2 separate regions of the Homo sapiens genome follow, and region 1 is linked to region 2. The links are contacts of gene promoters, found by promoter capture Hi-C in blood cells and fetal thymus (Javierre and others, 2016). All regions are on one chromosome and are shown on one strand. The core of a region is centred on a gene start or on the middle of the fragment in contact, and the rest is flanking DNA. Distances in the headings are between cores, read along the strand shown. Region 1 overlaps LINC03036 (long intergenic non-protein coding RNA 3036). Region 2 holds the start of TIAL1 (TIA1 cytotoxic granule associated RNA binding protein like 1).

What was found. Contacts are between HindIII fragments. The CHiCAGO score rates a contact against its expected background, and 5 or more counts as called.
Region 1: a fragment that was not itself captured here is called in contact with the fragment with the promoter of TIAL1 in region 2 in 1 of 17 cell types (fetal thymus); the score reaches 5.3 in fetal thymus.

Annotation. Positions count from the first base shown.
Region 1 is chr10:119,022,148-119,026,440 of GRCh38, reverse strand. LINC03036 (long intergenic non-protein coding RNA 3036) reads left to right here. Exons shown (of 4, transcript NR_186540.1): 2 at 581-644. Among named protein-coding and RNA genes, the nearest start is that of LINC03036, 5.3 kb to the left of the region's middle. RefSeq lists enhancers at 1,090-1,663, 2,849-3,491, 3,492-4,134. The HindIII fragment of the contact is 1,721 bases long and covers 2,139-3,859 here.
Region 2 is chr10:119,595,480-119,599,400 of GRCh38, reverse strand. TIAL1 (TIA1 cytotoxic granule associated RNA binding protein like 1) reads left to right here and starts at 2,437. Exons shown (of 12, transcript NM_003252.4): 1 at 2,437-2,967. The coding sequence starts at 2,936. LOC105378512 (a long non-coding RNA gene) reads right to left here and starts at 3,837. Exons shown (of 2, transcript XR_946358.3): 1 at 3,409-3,837; 2 at 1-2,787. RefSeq lists enhancers at 1,225-1,314, 1,210-2,207, 2,205-2,794, 2,208-3,206 and silencers at 2,805-2,914, 3,325-3,424. The HindIII fragment of the contact is 6,118 bases long and covers 1-3,729 here.

The DNA of each region.
Region 1 (4,293 bases), core at 1,750-4,249, 570 kb after region 2:
GCTGTGTCTGATCCCCCTTGGTCAGGCCAGAGAGGCGATGGCACAGAAGCGGAAGCCTTCTTGCCTCCCAACATGGTTTTCGGCCCTTGTGGTTGTACGGGGAGAATAAAAACTTTTAAGGGATAAGAATAGGAACAAACACCTTGGCTGGGACCTGCAGCCTGGGTATGTGGGAAGTGGAGCTGGGATGGAGATGCCCCAGAAGGAGGTGGAGAAATGAGTGTGTCTTGGGGTCCGCCATGGGCTGTTTCCCCAGGCTGCTCCCCTTGACTGCTATACGAGGTGAGTAGACATTTGACCCAGAAGGGAAGTCGGGAAGTGGAGGCCAAGTGCATGAAGGCTTTTGTCGTGGAGCACACGCTGGGCCTCAGTACCCTGGGAGCCTTTGCTCTCAGTGACCATAGAAAGGCCAGTGTGGGCACCTGGCCCAGCTCTGGGTTAAATAAACAGTGACTTTTGTCACCCAGCAACAGGCCTCAGCCTGGCTGTGAGCTCTCTAGCTCTTTGAGGTGTTGGCACGATTTCAGAGATGTTCTTAGCACCTCTGATGAAGTCTCACTGCCTTTTGCTCACTTTCCAGGAGTCTGGAATGAAACAGATGGAAACAGCCAGTCTGTGAACGTTTCTTCAGGTATCCGGCAGAGGTGAGAAGACAGGTGGGCATGGGCTACACCTCAGAAGTTAGAGGGTGCTGCTTGGTTTCTTCTGGAGTGGGGCAGTGGGGCCTGCCTGGCACAGGCTGAGGGCTCTGGCAGGGCAGGGGTGGGTGGTGGGGAGGGTGCCTGGGTTCTGTGCTCCCACCTCTCCACATGGCCCCCAGCCCGGGCCATTTCCTTTGCTGGCAGCAGAACTGAACCCTGTGAGGCAGCTCACAGACCTCAGGCTCCTGAGGCTCTTCAGAAACATGAGGTCAGCCCTGGGGAATGAGGCAGCTTGGCCGGGGTCCAGGCGGCTATAGCGATGCTGTTTGTCAGGTTCTGGGTTCCCGCTGACCCCCTGCCAGGACTTTGCCAGGGACAGGAGGTGCTTTGGCTCCGTCAGCCATGGGCCTGGAGGTGGGTGAGGTGCATTTGGGCACGAGGAGCCCTCTCCTGGCTGACTTTGTCCACATCATGGCTCTGTCAAGCTCAGAGAGTCCTGGGATGGGGCTCCTGCCCTTTGGGGGGCTTGGGCTTAGGGTCTGCTGTTGTGGAGAAGCCATATGGTGAAGTGGGGAGAGCTTACTGGGCCTCGGGACAGGGTTTGCACCCTGGCGCTGGTGCAAAGTCACGTGTAGTGGACAAGGGGCTTAACCTCTCTGGGCCCCAGATGCTGCTTTTGGTCAGTGAAGGGCTCTTGTCGAGTAAAATGGCAGCCACTCCCCCTCCTTGCAGACTTAACTTTGTTCTGATTCCTTCCCTCAGCCTCGGGGCATAACTGTGACAGGTTTAAGCAGAAACATCCCATTTCCCCTAGTCACCACTGGGTAAGGGGAGGGCTGGTGACCCATTCTCACCCTGGAGATCTCAGCGGACATCTGCTGTCTGCTGGGAGGATACTGGGAAGGGGTTTGCTTCCTTATATAAAAAGGGGGAAGAAATAAAGAACCAGGGCCCTCACCTTCTTCAGCTCAGGCTATAGAGCTGAGGTGATAAGGCTTAAGGACACAAAGCTGGCGCAAGGTGATGGCTTACCAGAAAAGTTAAAACAAAAAACAAACCTTAGTGATATTTTTGTTGATGACTTGGTGACTTGTTACACGAGATAATTATAACATCTCTATTATTTCAGCCACTTCAAGTCAGGTATCCTTTTATTTATTTATTTATTTGAAACAGTGTCTCACTCTGTCACCCAGGCTGGAGTGCAGTGGCATGATCTCGGCTCACTGCAACCTCCACCTCCCAGGTTCAAGCGATTCTGGTGCCCCAGCCTCCCGAGTGGCTGGGATTACAGGCATGCACCACGATGCCCAGCTAATTTTTGTATTTTTAGTAGAGACAGGGTTTCACCATGTTAGCCAGGCTGGTCTTGAACTCCTGACCTCAGGTGATCCACCTGCCTTGGCCTCCCAAAGTGCTGGGATTACAGACGTGAGCCACCACACCACGTCCAGGTATCCTTTTATACGTGCAGTTGACTTCATTCTTAATCAAGCTTGTCCAACCTGTGGCCAGGTGGCCTCATGTGGCCCAGGACAGCTTTGAATGCGGCCCAATACAAATTTGTAAACTTTCTTAAAACATTATGAGATTATGCACAGACCTTTTTTAATTAAGCCCTTCAGCTGTCATTAGTGTGTTTTATGTGTGGTCCAAGACAGTTCTTCCATTGCGGTCCAGGGAAGCCAAAACATTGGACACCCTTGTTCTAAATGAAACATGTAATACTGTGAAAAAAAATACATTTGGTTATTCTGTCGAAAAGGTAGGCTACCATATTCTGGCCAGGTGGAGGTGACGACCATGTCAGAATTCTCTGTGTGTGGACAAGGCTGGAAGGGGATGCGGAGAATGGGAAACGGGTGCCGTGGTGTCATCTCACACCCCCTGCCTTGGGCTAAAGTCTCCCAGCTGGTAATAATACCACCACCATCAGCACCAGGTGCTTGACATGCACTATTCCATGTGCCCCCCACCCCCAACCCTGCCCCGCAAGGCAGGTGCGCTGGTGACCTGTTGGAGACGGGGGCAAAGCTCAGCATGGAGCCCAAGGCTGAGAAGCTCAGGAGCAGCAGGACTGAGATTTGCACCCATTTTTCTCTCACTCCCCGAACCTGGGTTTGTGCCTCCTTGGATGCACCCGGTCATTCTTGGGACTTCTGGGGTCCAGATGTGCGGGAGACTGGCCAGCAACACACAGCGGCAGGGGCAGGAGAGGACACATTCCAGTCCGTGTCAGCAATGTCCCCTGAACAAAACCAACCCCATTTAAAAGCAGTCTGGGTGTTTCTGTTTATCCAGTAGTGGGTACTTTGGTAAAGTGAGTAATCCTTTCTCCCTCCAGCACTTGCCCTCCTCCCTGCCATGTGGTTTTCTTTTAGAAATCTGGAGTGTCCCAATTTTGTTTAAAGCAGGAGCTGCCTGGAGGCTGACAGGCGGAAGGGCAGATGTCCCTGGGCTGATGATGCTGATAATAGCAATAACAGTAGCTCACAGGTGCTGAGCCCTTACCGTGCACTAAGCATTCACTCATATCATTTCTGAAATCCTCCCAGCAGGCCTACAATGATAAGCATTTCACAAAAGGGAAAATGAGGTTTTGGGAGGCTAAAAGCATGCCCAGCAGCTCACAGCTAGCTGGTAGGTGGCATTTCTTCAAGGCCCGCACTGTTAACCCTCACACCTCCTTGATCATCCCCTGGCCCGTGGATACTCATTCATTTGGAATTCACTACATCCGGCCTCCCCACCTCCTCCTGTGCTTCCCTAAATGGGGCCATCAGCCTTCTCTCACCCGTCGTCAATCCCTGCTGTCTGCAGGGGGAGGGAAGTAAAAAGCTGACAGGAAGGAGTTACATGTAAAATGGTAACCTGTAGATTGAGACTGTTCTCCAACAGGTCTGAGGGCTCTAGGCAGAGGGAGGGGAAGCGGGGATATGAGGGCTGTGGAAAGGATGGGACCAGACTGCCAAGCAAAGAATGCTATGTGTGGTTCTGCAGGTTGTGTACAGTTCTGCAGGTTGTGTACTGCACAACCGCTTCCCATCTAAGGGGGCACCTTTACTTCATAGACATAGTAACTCTGTGATCATTTTCTGGCCGACCTTGAGTAAAGTATCTTCTAACGAAATCAGTATATTATGACACTTCACTGACAGATGGAAAAAGATACCTTGTGGAAGAAGTGTCTTTTCCTAATTTGCTCAAAGCCCAAAGCTTTGGCTCTGGCCGAGGTGTGAAATGCTGAGCTTCTTGAAGGCGGGCCTCAAGTTTGACATTAGTACCCCTTTTCTTGTTTCCCCATTCTGAAGCTTCAGGTGGAGAGTCTCCTGAATTCAGCTGATCAGGTGCTGGGCACAGTTCTGCCCTGGTTGTTACTGGTGGATCAGCTGCCCCTTGGGACTAACATTTAACTTTATTTTTGAGACAGTCTTGCTCTGTCGCCCAGGCTGGAATGCAGTGGCACGAGCTTGGCTCACTGCAACCTCTGCCTCCTGGGTTCAAGCGATTCTTCTGTCTCAGCCTCCTGAGTAGCTGGGACTACAGGCATGCACCACCACGCCTGGCTAATTTTCATATTTTTAGTAGAGATGGGGTTTTGCCATGTTGCTCAGGTTGGTCTAGAACTCCTGGGCTCAAGCAGTCCGCCCGC
Region 2 (3,921 bases), core at 1,188-3,687:
ACAAAGCTGCTGTAAACATTTGTGTGCAGGTTTTTATGTAAACATGTTTTCAGCTCATTTGGGTAAGTACCTAGGCATTATGTTTAGTTTTGTAAGGAACTGACAAGCTGTCCTCCAAAGGGGCTATAACATTTTGCAGTCCTACCAGCAAAGAATGATAGTTCCTGTTGCTTTTCATACTCACCAGCACTTGGTGGTGTTAGTGTTTTGGATTTTAACCTTAATAATTTCACTGCCAGTAAACATGCCCATTTTAACCATTCTAGTTTGTAGTGGGCATATTCTTTTTACTAAGTTAAAAAAAAACTCAAATATACATGTATATACATATGATTTTTAGGACTATGTACATGTGGAATAAAACCTTGTAGAAGGAAAGCAATAAATAGTAAAGACAGGATTCAGAAAGATGGTTACCCCAAGCGAAGGCAGGGGTGTGTGTTATTGTGTGTAGGAGGTATAGCATAGATACAGATATAAACTCGTGTCATTATAACTTTTTAGTGTGGTGGGTTTGTGGCTATAATCAAAACTAAAGTAATAAAGGTGGGTGCGGTAAACTGAATAATGGTCCACCAAAGATTTCTATGTCCTAATTCCCAGAATTTGGGAATGTTATGCTAAAAGGGACTTTGCAGATGTGATTAAGAATCTTGAGATAATCTTCGCCCAAAGTAATCACAAAAGGTTCTCGTAAATGAAAAGGGGTGGCAGGAGAATCACGATGTACGTACAGAGGCAGAGAAGAAAGAAGATACTATGCTTCTTTTCTTGAAGATGGAGGATGGGGCCAAGAGCCAAGGAATGCAGGCAGCCTCTAGAAGCTGGAAAAGGCAAGGAACCAGCCCTGCCGACACCTTGATTTTAGCCCAGTGTAACTGATTTTGGACTTCTGACTTCCAGAATTGTAAGAAAATAAATTCGTGTTGTTTTAAGTATCTAAATTTGCAGTAATTTGTTACAGCATCAACAGGAAACTATCACAGCGGGCCAGGCATGGGTTAATGAATTGGATTATAATTAAATCCAGTTCTACACCTAGGTCCAATTAAAAACATAGACAAAACCTTTGAGTGGCTCCTCACTGCCTGGAAGAGAAAGCTCAAATTCCTCAGCATGAAATAGATTCTTGACAACACGGTTCTACAAGGTCCTCTCTAGCTTTAGTTCCCTTCCCCCCGCTCCCGCCCGCATCCCCAGCCCATACATTTTAGCCATGGGTCCTGGCGTCTGAGCCTTTTGTTGTTCCTACGGACTCTTATGGGGCTCAACTCCTTTGCCGTGTCTCTATGAAGTCTTTCAGGTTGAAATTTCCTCCCCTGAAAATGGACAACATAAGGGCTTGCTGCATGGTTGATTCTGCTTTCAAGATTAATGTTCAGTGGCACGCATACGCACCGCCACTTGCAGAGGTCGACATGCACTTAGTACATGTCGGCAGAAGCAACTCTTAAGCCATTACTAACCGGGGCAGTTAAGTTCTGGCAATGGGCTGAAAGATCTTTCTTCATCGCCACTCTTCACTAAGCTACAAGACCAAGTACTTTCTCCTGAAGGTACTTAGAGGAGGAAAAAAGCACACCAGGAACTGTTGTGGGGGGTGAGAAGACAAATTCTACAGGGATGCAGAGCTAGTATGAACATGGCTTCCCCTATCTTCATGCAAAACTGCGTTTCTAGCCCACATGACTGATGTCTGTAAACGCAACTTTATGTTTGTGCACGTCTCTGCCCAAGGATTTTTTTTTCTTTTAACTCCAAGAATACGGGGGGAGTTGGGCAAGTCATTATAATAGGGCTCCTCTTCTTACCCCACTATCCGATGAGACATTTGATAGGGAAACCTCTGAAACTTGTAAAGCAATTTACAAGCAGGCCACCTACTTGTATTTAACAAATAGGCTAGAAATACCTATTTGTGGGAAATCGAGTCCCCAAAACACCCCAACCCCTCCGGGTCCCCGCCAGCACAGCCTCTCTTCTGACTGTCGCGCGAAGCGGCGGTTGACTAACGCGAGCCAGCCGTTCTGATGAACACAGGAGGGCCGGACGGCCCTGCTGGCTCGGACACCACGCGGAGGGAGAGTGCTGCCTGAGCCACAGTTGAAGAAACCGCTCTCGGGCTGGACGAAGGCGGAGCAGCAGCTCAGACTGGGCCAACAGAAGAGCCTTACAATGCCTGGAGCAGTCCGAGGACAGCCCCCGGCGCGAGGAACTCTGGGACTTGTAGTTCGCTTTCCCAGACAGCGCTTTTCCCCACTTGGTCTCCCCGCCTTTCAATGTCGCTTTTATTCTTCCCTTTACCTCCCAGCCCGCCGACTTCCTGGTCGTCGCACGTCCTCACGTATGACTACACTACCCAGAAGTCTCCTCTTCACGTCCCAGCGCGGGTGGGCGCCGGCGGCTCCTCTTAACCACAGGTTCCAGAAGTCCTCTGCAGAAGTGCTTCCCTCTCTCATTTCCAGGACCACAATTCCCAGAGACTTCGGCTTCACGACGTTTCTCTTTTTGCCCGATCTCTCCCGGAGCTGGCTGGGCTTCGGCCGGCCAGAGGCCCACAGCGACGACGTGATCCGTCGTGAGCGGGTCCCAGGGTTTCCTCGGCGGCCCTTTTTTCTCTCCCCTCGGTCGTCCCCCTTGCAGGCTGTCGCGGCTGGCCTGAGCGGTGACCTGGCGGGTCGCGCCTGCGCTCTGCCCTGTTTCCTGCCTGGCTGGTGGCGGCGGCCATTTTGTTCATCCTCCTCCTCCTCCTGCTCCTCCTGGTTGGAGCGCAGTGTCCGGAGCGGGCTGGGGGGAGAGAGCCCGAGAGCAGGGTTCGGTGCCTTTTCCTCTGTCCCCAGCCGGTGCCCAGAGCCCCCCTCCCCTTCCTCCCCACCCCCTCCCCTCCCCAACCCTGCCCTCCCCCTTGTCCCGGGATCGCTCCGTCGCACCCACCATGATGGAAGACGACGGGCAGCCCCGGACTCTGTGAGTACCCGAGACGAGGGGTGCCAGGCGCCAAGAGGCCCGGGCACCGCGGGACGCTAAGGGAGGGAGCAGGAGAGACTGGGCCGAAGCCGGGACTCTAGGCGGCTCCCTGACCAGGGCGGCGTGGACGCGAAGTGCATTCCTCATCTGTCCCCTTTTCCTTGGGAAGGAAATCCTCCCTTCCCCCAAACAGTCACTTCCTGGGGTCTGGGGCTTGTCTCGACCTTTTTCTCTGGCGTCCTTCTTTGCATGCCCTCCCTAGGCCGGGTTTCTGCACGGCTGAGGCTGTCAGGCCCAGGAGAACTCCTGCACCCCCTCCGCGTTGGACGCCCTGGGCTGGGCCTGGAGCTGCCGGCGCCCACGGGGGAAGGGCCTGGCGGGGGTAGGATTGGGGGTGGGCCCGGGGGTGGGCCCCGCGGGCCCTGAGGAATTAGCACTCACCCCTTCCACGTCCTCAGCTCGAGTCGCTCCCAGCTCTTCTCCCCAGCTAAGCTCTCGGAGGAAGCAGGACACTCTTTCACCACTCAAGCCCCTTCTCTCTTTATGCCCCACGTGCCCCCGCCCACGCTGTCAGAAACACCCGCCTAGCGCCCGCTACTTTTGAAGTACATAAGGGATACCTTTTGCTGCCCGAGCATCTTTCCCTTCTTGGATAAAGAAGTTTACTTTGAGCGCTCCCTACGCTAAACTGACAACCAGTTGTTAAACTCCTTTTGCTCTCTAGGTGTTGCCTCTTCCTAATCTGTTTGTGCGTCGAAAGCTTCAGAGTTGGCTAAAATTATGTCTTCATCCGCTATTTGATGTGTGTCTTCTGAACGCTTTTTCTCCTGTCTTGCTGTTGCTTTTTACCTGAAGCTCAATCTAATGAATGAATTCCATCTTCCAACCACTTAATTCTGGTTTCCTTCCTTTCCAATGAAGAGTGATGACTCAGCATTTGCATTCCTTTCTGAA